Regions from separate parts of the Homo sapiens genome. Here all the other regions are linked to region 3. The links are contacts of gene promoters, found by promoter capture Hi-C in blood cells and fetal thymus (Javierre and others, 2016). All regions are on one chromosome and are shown on one strand. Each heading gives the region's core, a stretch centred on a gene start or on the middle of the fragment in contact. The rest is flanking DNA. Distances are from core to core; before and after follow the strand shown.

Region 1 (3,166 bases), core at 12-2,511, 240 kb before region 3:
TTTCCCAATGACTAGGCCTTAGGGCCCTCAATCCCATAGGAATTTGGGGTTAAATGAAATGGTGAACCCTTTTTATATTTGGTCCTGCTTGTCTCCACAAAACATTTTCAGTAGTCTACCATAACCATGGTCCTGTAGTTTTGAAAGACTTCTGAAGTATGAATACATTTTATTTAAAAATATTAATGCTATCGATATATAATTTGGTAAAGTATTGGGCAAAGATGATATTCCTCAAGGAGAATTAATTATGCTAGAAGAAAGAGTGACAACAAAAGACATGTGGAAAAGCCCAGTATTTAAGGGCTTGGAGGGGGAATGTTGGATAAAGAGAGTTCATGAGAAGGATGAAGGGAGACTGGGAAGAAACACACACTGGCCAGATAAACGACAAGAATAGAGGGACACCCTAATGTCAAGTAAGACAGTCTATAGAATACTCCCAAGATATTAAAGAGTTAAAGGATTATAGATTATTCTTGTCCCATGTTTCCCTCATTCTAAGACAAGTTCACATTTTAATGCTTCTAATTCTGAATAAGTCTTATAATCTATATATATATATATATATTTTTCTGGTGGTTTTTTGTCCTGTTAGAATATTATTAAATTGATGATGTCTACTTTAATCCATAGATTAAATCCATAGATGGCATCTTGGATCTGAGATGTGGATTAATTTGGAGCTTACTGGAGATTTTACAGAAAGCAATATTTAAACATCCGTAACTATTGTAGTAGGACCACAAGAACACCTGGGAAAGATTCCATCACCTGTATCTCACATGACCAAGAGTTTGAAGAGAAAAAACTATGAAGTGAAGAAAATTACCATTAAGACTTAAGTTAATAACCTAATTGACGAAAGCAGAAAAATAATTCAAGTCATATAATTCAAGTCATATAATTCAAGACAATAGTAAGGTAGCTTGTTCATCGAAGGAGATAGATAGAGCAGAATTACAGAAACAAAATATTGGTATTGCCTATCAAAGCACCCCTCAGGGACTTGGAATCTTGATCAATAAGCTTAGAGTAGGATTGCCTTCCTGACATGGACAGTCTTGGTTTGAAGATTAATTCACCAGGCTGTTTTAGCCTAAAAGCTTAAAATAGTCAAGTTATATAAGACCTTAAACTCGATTCCATGCTAGCATATCAAGCTTCAAATTATAATTTGGCTTTCCTAGGTACATATTCCATATGTTGGGTAGAGTAATTTAATGAAAGGTATATTTTCTATGTAAATTAATGTGCTTACATTCATTCTTGCTTTTGATTTGCTGGTAAAATTAGGTCTCTGGGTCTATGAAGATGTAGGTCAGAACAAGGTGATCTTGCCCCACCTTTGAAGCTTCCATGGAAGACAGATAGCTGCCCTCCTCTAGAAATTTCTCTATCTTATCTTATCACTTATCTCAGAAATTCTGCCACTGTAATTTAAAGAAAAAAGATGATAAGTTTTAGTACAAGGGCTGAGTAATCAAAAAACAACAAATGAGAATATAAAACAATACAAAAATCTCACTTCTATAAAAGCCCAGAAAAGTGAGTGATTAATTTCAGTTTAGGGAACTTTTTTCACTAACGGAAGTGGCCTTTGAGTTGACTTTTAGGTAATATAAAATCAGGCAAAGATGGGATACAAAATACACTTGAGGTATGCATAAATGTTGAAAATTGGGAAAGGATGATCAAAGTATTTACAAAGCAAGTCACTTAAGTTAATCATTATCCAAATGTAAGAAAATAAGCAATTTAAAGTGTACCTTAAAAATATGTCAAAACTGGATCTTAATTAAATAGTAAAATTTCCACATGAAAATGATGATTTATTTCTGGACAAAGCATACTATTCTAAGATCAAACTATCCCAAGTAACCTCAATCCATTTAGTATATCTCAAATAAACAGTGCTATTTTTATTTAAATGTAAATGGTAGATGGATAATAAATGACCAATACAGTAAATCAGGAGTTTCTGTTTACTCTTTTCTTGGGTTAATAAATGTTGCATTTCATATAGGAAGGGTCTAACACTTAGGACTGGATAATTAGCAAAAACAAGGCCCTATATAATGTTTTTGTAATCATGGCTCCATTTACTGAATTATATTAAACAATTCTTTTTAGAGGAGGTAACTGGTACTAGGTCAAACTAAATCAATTTCTGATGGATTACCTCAGAAATCAAATAAGGCAGAATAAAAAAACATTAAGTACCAATTACCTGTCATGCTGTAGAACTGTGCAGGTAGAAAACTGAACTTAATTTAGCAGTTCTAAGAGTGACTTCCTCAATATTAGAAGATAAAATAAATAAGGCATATTTATGTTGAAAACTATAATCTCATTACATTACTGCCTTTGAATTTATGAAAAAGGAAAACATTTTTTAATGTTCCCTTAATTTTCCTCTTATCCATTCTCTAATTTTGCAATTATTAAAATGCACTTAGCCAATTATTGCTAGGGAGCCCACTTGGGTGTGTATTAGAGCATTGTACTCAATAATAATTAATATGTAATATTTTATACTTTATGGTTATATTAGTATTATAACTTGGTTTCTAAAAGAGCAAAATGGACTGATTTTGATTTTTTTGTGTTGAAATTATGCAAATGACAGGTGAATTCTCTTTATTCTTTTTCACTTGGTAAATGACTATTATCTCTTCCTTGTGATATGCCAAAGTCTTTAGGTGAGAATCTGCATACTACCCAGAACATAAGAAATAAATATGAGAGCAAGAGAGAAAGAAATTTGGTGAGATGTATATCCAAGGAAGAGTTTTTAAATGGTTTTATCACAGGAATAAAACCTGAATTTGGGGGCTTCTAATTGATAGCAAAGACGACATTCTTTTAAATCATAGGCTTGAAATCAACCTGAATGTTAGAGATGTGGGTGCCCACCTACTATTGCATAGTGCAATTGGTGCAATTTTTTATTAGCACAAAAAAGAAAGAGAAGTGGCACTTTCCCAGCCAAGAGGCATGCATAGTTATGCATTGACAAGTTCTGATGTAACAGAGAAGATACTCGGAAAAACAACATATCTCAATTCTGTGACAGACTTTACTGAGCTACATAAATCACCTGTATTTGTAATGCTTCTTGTGAATGATTAATTTGGATGCCTTGTTTGAAGTAAACATGATGGGT
Region 2 (3,005 bases), core at 456-2,955, 180 kb after region 3:
AACTATCTATAAACATTTGTTATGGACTGAATTATGTCCCCCCGAAATTCATATATTAAAGCTGTAACACTTAATGTGATTGTATTTAGAGATAGGACTTCTGAGGCCAATTAGATTTAGATGAGTTCATGAGGGTAGGGCCCTTGTGATATGATTTAGTGTCCTTATAAGAAGAGAAACCAGAAAACTTGCTTTCTTCATCATGTGAGGACACAATGAGAAGGCTCTGTCTGCAAGCTAGGAAGAAACTTCTCACTAGAACCCAACCATGCTGGCACCGTGATTGCACACTTTCAGCCTCCAGACTGTGAGAAAATACATTTCTGCTGTTTAAGCCTCTCATTCCATGGTATTTTCTTATGATAGATGAAGCAGACTAATACACCACGGATATGCTGTCAATTCATTAGTTTTCATTTCATATAATTTTATTTAAATGAAATCACAGAGTATATACTCTTGTCTAGATACTTTCACTCAGCATAATTACTTTGAGATTAATCTATATTGTAATATGCATCAATATTTTGTTCCTTAATATTGCTGAGTAGTATTCTATTGTATGGAATATCACAGTTTATTTATCCATTGACCTGCTAATGAACATTTGGGTTGTTTCTAGTTTTTAGTTATCACAAATAAAGGTTCTATGAACATTCATATACAAATACTTGTATGGACATATGTTTCATTTTCTTTTGGGGAAATACACAGGCACGGAATGGCTGGACCAATGTGTGTGTGTGTGTGTGTGTGTGTGTGTGTGTGTAAATACACAGGCACAGAATGGCTGGACCAGTGTGTGTGTGTGTGTGTGTGTGTGTGTGTGTGTGTGTATTTAACGTTTTAAGATACTGCCAAACTATTTTCCAGTTTTCCAAAATGTACCATTTTGCATCTCCACTACAGGAGAACATGATGGTTACTATCCCTCCACATCATCACCAACACATAGTATAGTCAGTTGATATTTTAATTTCAGCCATTCTAATGGGTTTGCAGTAGTATCTTGTTAATACTTTTCATTTGAATTTCCCTAATGACTAATGATGTTGAACATCTATTCATATGCTTATTTACCATTTGTATTTCTTCTTTGAAGTGTCTGTTCAAATACTTTTACCATTTTTGCTCTTGCTATTCTCTCTGTCATTATTTTTAGAAAGTTTCAGCAATGATTATTTCAAAAGTTTTTTCTGTCCTGTTTTCTCTTCTCCTGCTATTCCAAATGCATGTACCTTTTGAAAATATCCCACAGTTCTTTGACATTCTATTCTGGAGCGGTTTGGGTTTTTTTCCTCTTTGTGTTTTATTTTGAGAAATTTCTACTGGCATAACTTCAAGCTTACTGATTCTTTTCCTGGCCATTTCCAGTCTACAGTTGAGCCCATCAAAGCATTCTTCATTTCTGTTAGAGTGTTTTTAATTTCTAGCATTTCTTTTCTAGATATTCTTTTGCATTTGAATATCTGATTGTTCCAGCCAGTACTATGTGTTGAAAATCGCATTCTTTTCTGTACTTATTTGCCTTTCCACTTTTGTCAGAAATCAGTTATCAATATAAGTGTGAATCTCTTTCTGGACTTTCTATTTTGTTTCATTGATCTGATTTTCTATCTTGATTCCAATACTACATTGCTTTGCTTACTGTAGCTTTATAACTCATTTTGACATCAGGCAATGTTAATCCTCCATGTTACTCATTTTCAAAATTGTTTGGACCATTTTAGGTCATTTGCAGTTCCATATGAATTTTATTCAGTTTCTCCCAAGTTTTTACCAAAGGTCACCTTGAACCTACAAATCAGTTGGAGGAAAATTGGTATTTTAACAGTATTTAGTCTTCTGATCCATAAACATGGTTTATTAATCCATTTATTTAGGCCTCCTTTAGTTTGTCTCAGAAATGTTCTGTAGTTTTTAATATATATAGGTTTTCCCCATCTTTTGTCAAATTTATGCCTAAGGATTTCATATTTTTGATGCTATTATAAATGTATATTTAAAATTTCAATATCTGGTTGAAAGTATACAGAATAAAAATCGATTCCTCTATATTAAGCTTGTATCCTTCAATCTTGCTAAACTCACTTATTAGTACTAGTAGCTGTTTTTTTTTTTTTTTTTTTTTCATGGATTCCCTTGAATTTTCCATGGGACAATCATGTCATCTGCTTTTCTTGTCTTATTGTGCTAGTTAGAATTTCCAGTGAAATGTTAAATAGACATGGTAATAGTGGACATCCTTGACTTTCTTGATTGTAAGAGGAAAACACTCAGTGTTTCATAATCAATTATGATGTTGCCTATAGATTTTTCATACATTCCCTTTATCAGCTTGAAAGAGTTCTCTTCTATTATTAGTTACTTGAAAGTTTCTCATCAGGAATTAATGATGAAATTTATCCAATACTTTATCTGTATCTATGGAAATGATTATATGATTTTCATTTTTAGCTTGTTAATATGGTAAAATACATTGTTTACTGTTCTAATGTTAAATTGTATTGGATTCCTGAAAGAAAACACATTTGGTCATGATGAATTGTTTTCTAAATTGTTGGATTTGATTTGTTAATGTTTTGTTAATACCTTTTGAATCTATCTTCATGAAGGATACCGACTCATAATTCTCCTTTCTTGTAATGTCTTTGCAAGGTTTTTAGTAACAGAGTAATGCTGGCTTCAAATGTGTTAGAAAGCATTCCCTCTTCTTTATCACTATTCTTCCTTAAATATTTGGTAAAATTCACCAGGGATGCCATCTGGACATAGAGCTTTCATTGTGGAATGGATTTGAACTACAAAGTCAATTGCTTAACAGAGCTATTAAGACATTTCTTTTTGAGTGAGCTTTGGTAATGTATATCTTTCAAGGAAGTTGTCCATTTCATTTAACTTGTCAAATTGGGATAATGTTACTGAGAATATTCCCTTACTGCCCTTTTAATATCTGTAGAATCTGTAGTGATATTACCACCCTAAGTCCTGGTATTGGTCAGTTG
Region 3 (2,974 bases), core at 345-2,844:
GTAACCAGGTTATTCACAGGCTCTGGCTGTCTCAAATTAGAATATTCAATGAAACACCCAGAACAGACATGTGCATTGTTCAGATGCAACCTTACATGTGGGGAAAATAATAAGTGCTAAGTTATTCTGACCTCGAGGTTAATTTCTAACTCTAGGAAGACTGTCACCTTTCTAATTTAATTCTTTTCAAAACAAAGACAGCAAAGCCACATTGTTTACTGAGAATCTTCTAGCAAGTCTTTCTTAGCTCAGTTTTGGCAGAAACCACATATCTAGTTTCCACTTGTGTTCCTGGACTTAGACTTGTAAGTTTCAATTATGCATAGTATGCATTTCATTAGGTCTCTCAACCCCTGAGATAAGGTGTGCCAAAATAATAATTTAACAGTCACATCCTTCACAGGTAGAGTTAGAGTGTCTGGGGAATCAGCCTCATTCCAACTCCAGGGAGAATATGAGACTGGTGGTAACTTTTATTTTTTTATTAAGATATTCATATACGACTTCAAACTCTTTCAAATTCCTTAAACTGAAGTTTAAGGAATTGGAAAGAAGTAATTTTTTTTTAACAGAAAGGCTATTTAGAAAATTTTTCCCCTTGAACTAAATCATCTCAAATAGGAAGACTGGCATTTAAATACCCTCAGCGATCACAGGCTATGGAGTGCAATTAGCAGCAAGTGCAGAACGCTTGCTCCAGAGGCTGCTTGGGAGGCTGCAGGGAAAAACGCAAGCAGCAGGTGTAGGGGCGAAGGGCGGTGGGGAGCGCCAGGACCTGCCCAGGGCCCTTCTGCTCCAGATACCCTCGACCAGTGTTTTATTTCTCTTGTGTCTGGAGCTCAGCCAACTGGCACTGGCGCATACCAGCTCCTCCGGGAAAGCTAAACCAGGCTAGGTTTTAGAAAACTGAGCGCAAGACAGAGGAGAAAAGCTTTTTCCCCCCTCCAAAAAATTTCTTACGCTAGTTTCTATTCCCCACTCTCCAACAAAAAGGAACAAGACATGAAATGTTAACAGTGCGTTCCAGGCCTTTAGATTTCTAGGACTGGCAACTTTTCAAAAAAAAAAAAAAAGCTTTTTCAACAACTTTTTATTTTGTTTAATAAGGAGATATTTCAATCCATGCATAACATATATGCCAATAATTAATTCACCAATAAAAAGCATTTTAACATCGATCCCCAGTCCCCCCCACCCCAGTCCCACCATAGGGGAAGACAGACTCACAAAACAAGACGTAATTTTAAATAGAGCACACTTGAACCTGGAGACAACTCCGTACTTGTCGAATGACAAATGCACAGGAGCCTTCCTTATTTGTCTCCTCTTTGGGGCGGCCGGAAGCCAGAGGGGGAGAACTTACCCAGGCAGAGCAGCAGCGCAGGGACCCTGCCGGCACAGAGCATCTCCATCCTCCTCCCCGCGGTCATCGGCGATGGGAGCGGGCGCTGGGGCTTGGCGGAGGGCGGCTGCGGAGAGTGCACGGGCAGGGCGGGAGCAGACGGGCTCGCGGCAGTGGCTGGAGAGCGGCTGTCAGCCTAGAAGGGACCCCACGTTGGCTGTGTCCCTCTGACACTGGAAATATCAGGCAAGTGAGCTCAACTGTCTGGTGCTGCGAACTTTATACTAGGGAGCCCCTCCCGGGCCCTAACGGGGTGAGGTCAAGAGTGCCCAGAGTTTCATAATTGGCCCGAGGGAGGAGCGGCAGGAGGACCGTCAGGAAGTCATCCTCCCTCCCTGGAGCACCTGAGAGTAGTGGTTGAGGAATGAAAAAATGTCTTTCCGATTGGCCGGGGACTACTCCCGAAACTTTTCCATCTCCCTCCGGGAGGTGGGGAGCGTGGACCAGATGGCTTGGTTTGCTTTGTGGGGTCACCTGCCCTGTAGTGGGTGGTTTTGGTTGCTCAGGGTGACGGACATAACTTGAATCAGTCTTTTAGCCAAGGCTGGCGTTCCCCATACATGCCTTTGGAGAGCTGTGCGTGTGACTTACTAACCTCAGCCACGAAAACTCCCTTAACTTGAAGTCTGTCAGTGATTCAAGCGCCCTCCTTGCATTGAAACGCCACCGCCCAGAAAAGCCTTTCCCATCTGCGCCTTCCTTCTGAGACCCCTGCTTCCAATGTGGCTCAGGCATTTATTACCTCAAAGTCGAGTCATTGTGAAGAAAATTCCTGTTATTTTTTTTCCTTCTGTCGTATTTGCCATTTGTCAGGTTGCTGCTTTTGATATGACTTCCTACTAAGTAGTGCCTTAATCCTGTCGCTCCCCTGCACAAAACCTTTCAACGACTTCCTATTGCTTTTTGGACAAGGCCTGCCACAAACGTGAAGCCAATCGGTCTTTTCAACCTCAGCTCCCACTATTTCCCCAGGCAAATTGTCTGACCCCAGCCAGGCTGGAAAACTCTAAGCCTTTCCTCACTCCCACTTTCCTGCCTATGCTGATGGAGTCGTACTTTGAGGCAATGGCTACTTTTTAAAGGAATTAGTGAAATCCTGCTCAAATTCATGGTTCTCCTCAAGGGCCTGGGCTTCTTAGGCTTGTGGATCTCTTTTCATTCTGATCTCTTATAGCTTTTGTCGTTTATCTTCTCCCTAGCCTCATAGAATTCTAGACCCGGTACTTTACACCTGGGAAAGCTACTTTGTATTCCTTGACTTTTTTTTTGTTTGTAAGTCCTATGTTCAGCTCTGTACTGTGTAAATTGTCTTCCTTTTCACTGCACTCCTCTATAGGACCTAAGAACTGTGAGTCAATTCAGCAGTACTGTATGTAAATATACATATTTGAATAGAAAATGGAATCTAATGGATGTTAACTCCTTACCTTTTTATTTCTACTTTTTAAAAAATTATTATTACTATTCCTTTTTTTTTTCTGGCTTTTTTCTCTCATACTCTAAGGCCCTTTAATGTCCAGAATGCTCTTGTTAGAAACAAATACTTCGGCCGGGCGCGGTGGCTCACGCCTG
Region 4 (3,103 bases), core at 102-2,601, 220 kb before region 3:
TCAGCTCACTGCAACTTCCATCTCCTGGGCTCAAGGAATCCTCCCATGTCAGCCTCCCAAGTAGCTGGGACTACAGGCATGTACAACTATGTCCAGCTAATTTTTTTAAAATTTATTTTTATTAGAGACGGGGTTTCGCCATGTTGCCTAGGCTGGTATTGGACTCCTGACCTCAAGTGATCCACTCACCTCGGCCTTCCAAAATGCTGAGATTGCAGGCCACTGCATCTGGCCTTAGCCACAGTCCTTTTCTTTTTCCTTTCCTTTCCCCTTCCTCTTCCCTTCCCTTTTCTTTTTATTTATTTTTCTTTTCTTTTGGAGGGTCTCAGTCGGTCACCCAGTCTGGAGTGCAGTGGCATCTCCATGGCTCACTGCAGCCTCAGCCTCTCAGGATTAAATGATCCTCCCACCTCAGCCTCACAAGTACCTATGACTATAGGTGTGCACCACTATGATGGGCTAATTTTTAAATTTTTTGTAGAGACAGGCTCTCCCTTTGTTGCCCAGGCTGATCTCAGAATTCCTGGGCTCAAGTGATCCTCATTCCTCAGCCTCCCAAATTGTTGGGATTACAGATATGAGCCACTGCACCCTGCCTCCATACTCATTTCTATCCTAGCTTTGTGTTGTATACATGCTTCACAGCACTTAATACATTTTGTTATAATTATTTATTTTCACATCATTCTCGCCTTCTGGTTTGTGAGTTTCTTGACAGAATACTTATGTCACTCACCTCTATATACTGCACATCGTGACAATTTCTGAACTTTACTACGTATTACATGGTTTTTAGATGGACACGTAATTGATCACAATTGAGAGGAGGTCTATAGGCTATGATCTGTACACCAAATCCTGCCCACTGCCTGTTTTTGTAAATAAAGTTTTATTGAAACACTGTGCACCCATTCATTCACATACTGTTTATGGCTGCTTTCTTATTATAACAAGGGAACTGATTAGTTGCAACAAAGATTATATGACTTGCAAAACCTAAAATGTTTATTGTCTGTTCTTTTTCAGAAAAGTTTGCTGACGCCTGATATGGAGCACTAGAAAGAAATTATTTTTCCAAGCATCAACCCGGAAGTCCCAGCATACCGAGGTTAACCAAAACACTTATATTCTGTTCTCTCACAATTCTCTGAAACTACTTCTCTTCTAAAATGTATGACACTATATGGTAACCTATATTTCCCACTAGAATCTGGGAATATGTAAGCTTTATAGGGGTTGTGCATGATATAAGTATTTTTACCTACTTTTTACCTGCTTACCTCTTAGGAGAATTTTGAAAAACCCAGCACATCTTAAAATTGAGATCTAAAATTTTTCACTGGAGATTCAGGCCACTGCACAATACATAACTTTGTGCAAATATAAATATAGACTATTTAAAATAAAACTGTTCCACCCAAGATAATTTACACAACAAAGTGTTTGATATCCACTATTATCCATCTAAAGAAGCTTTGGCTTACGCTTAAGATGAAGAAGGCCACAAGAGAAAACCCCTTCCACTCTAACAATGAGAACAAACCAGAGAGTCTGCAAAATCATGATGTTTGCAGCCCATTAGTGAGCTGAGGTTGCAAGGCCACCTGGTGAGCTAAGACCCAAGGTTGACAGGTCATTCTGAGGACAGCAGGACAGAAACAAGCTGTTGGACATTTATCGCAGCAGTGAGAAGAGATGGCTGCCATAGAATTCTTACTAGTGAGTGTTAGCGTGGTATGCTTCCATAGGAGAAGGCTGCACTCTCCTGCCAACTCTTTCCTTACACCTCTACCTGATGCTTACATGGAAGATCTGGACAGGAACCAGGGATCAAAGGGGCACAAAAAACCTTTTTCCGATGAAGGAATTTTTCTATAGCTTATATTGGTGGTTAAACAATTGATATAATTATCAAAATTCGTCAAAATGAACCACCTAAAAGTGGAATTTATTATATATAAATTATACCTCAAAAAAGCTTAAATATAGGCCAGGTGCAGTGGCTCATGCCTGTAAGCCCAGCACTTCAGGAGGCTGAGGCGGGCAGATCACGAGGTCAGGAGTTTGACACCAGCTTGGCCAATGTGGTGAAACCCGTCTCTACTAAAAATACAAAACATAATTGGGTATGGTGGTGCTTGCCTGTAATCCCAGCTACTGGGGAAGCTGAGGCGGGAGAATAGCTTGAACCCAGAAGGCACAGGTTGTAGTGAGCCAAGATCGCGCCACTGCACTCTAACCTGGGTGACAGAGTGAGACTCCATCTCAAAAAAAAAAAAAAAAAAGCTGAAATAATTTGGAGCAAAAGGAGTGGTAGAATTGTATGAACAATATAATATTCTTTATGTAATTTTTAAAACATGAAAAAATACTACATATTATTTATGGATTACAGTATGCACAGAAATGATAAACACAAAATTTAGGATAGGGATTACTTTGGGGGAGAGAGGGGAAGAATAAGGTAAGAGTATACAGTGAGTGTTAACTGAATATACTGTGCATCATTTCTTTTTCAAAACAAGAAGTAAATATCAATAAGCAAAAGGTTAAGATTGTATATAGTTGGGTGATGACCATATAGAGGTTTGTAATGTTACTTTTCATAATTAATGAAAGTAATTTGAAGTTAAACTTACATAGTACAAAAATTCTAAACAATAAATAACATAATTGAAATTAAGACAAACAAGGGGCAAGAGCTAGATAGAGCTGTGGAGGGGAACAGGCAGAACAGCATGGTCGACCTGTGGATTTTGTAATGTTTTTGCAGCACAAATAAAATTCTTCCCAAAACAGTTATAATTCTCATTCCCTTCCATGCTACTGTACTTTGCCCTTCTTTTTTTAGGGAAAGACAGATTTCTACCCATCAGTGATGCTTTTCCTTTGAGAATCAGAAGGGACAAGTGGCCAGGCCTGCCAGCTTGATTCTATCTTTAAGGACAGGTGCCTGCTAACATTCGACAATTTTAAAAAAGTATAACATCTAATAAAGCAGTCAAAGAATAAAATGACTGTATTTGGACAGTAGTTCCTCTGGTCCCCAGCATTTGTACTTCTCGCCACGATATGGGTAGTTTACATAGTTGCTCAGCAGCCT

Evidence for each region. The method cuts DNA at HindIII sites, captures the fragments that hold promoters and counts their contacts. A CHiCAGO score of 5 or more calls a contact.
Region 1: a contact is called between a fragment that was not itself captured here and the fragment with the promoter of EREG in region 3, in 6 of 17 cell types (total B cells, non-activated CD4 T cells, total CD4 T cells and 3 more). The highest score is 8.4, in total B cells.
Region 2: a contact is called between a fragment that was not itself captured here and the fragment with the promoter of EREG in region 3, in 1 of 17 cell types (megakaryocytes). The highest score is 5.2, in megakaryocytes.
Region 4: a fragment that was not itself captured here is called in contact with the fragment with the promoter of EREG in region 3 in 2 of 17 cell types (M2 macrophages and total B cells); the score reaches 5.4 in M2 macrophages.

Annotation. Positions count from the first base shown.
Region 1 is chr4:74,603,287-74,606,452 of GRCh38, reverse strand. No RefSeq gene overlaps it. Among named protein-coding and RNA genes, the nearest start is that of AREG, 160 kb to the right of the region's middle. The HindIII fragment of the contact is 191 bases long and covers 1,166-1,356 here.
Region 2 is chr4:74,185,565-74,188,569 of GRCh38, reverse strand. All of the region lies in intron 3 of MTHFD2L (methylenetetrahydrofolate dehydrogenase (NADP+ dependent) 2 like), which reads right to left. Among named protein-coding and RNA genes, the nearest start is that of MTHFD2L, 29 kb to the right of the region's middle. The HindIII fragment of the contact is 718 bases long and covers 1,347-2,064 here.
Region 3 is chr4:74,363,765-74,366,738 of GRCh38, reverse strand. It overlaps EREG (epiregulin), which reads right to left and starts at 1,594. Exons shown (of 5, transcript NM_001432.3): 1 at 1,364-1,594. The coding sequence starts at 1,430. LOC105377276 (a long non-coding RNA gene) reads left to right here and starts at 1,398. Exons shown (of 3, transcript NR_188415.1): 1 at 1,398-1,588. The HindIII fragment of the contact is 3,301 bases long and covers 1,077-2,974 here.
Region 4 is chr4:74,586,337-74,589,439 of GRCh38, reverse strand. No RefSeq gene overlaps it. Among named protein-coding and RNA genes, the nearest start is that of AREG, 140 kb to the right of the region's middle. The HindIII fragment of the contact is 248 bases long and covers 1,228-1,475 here.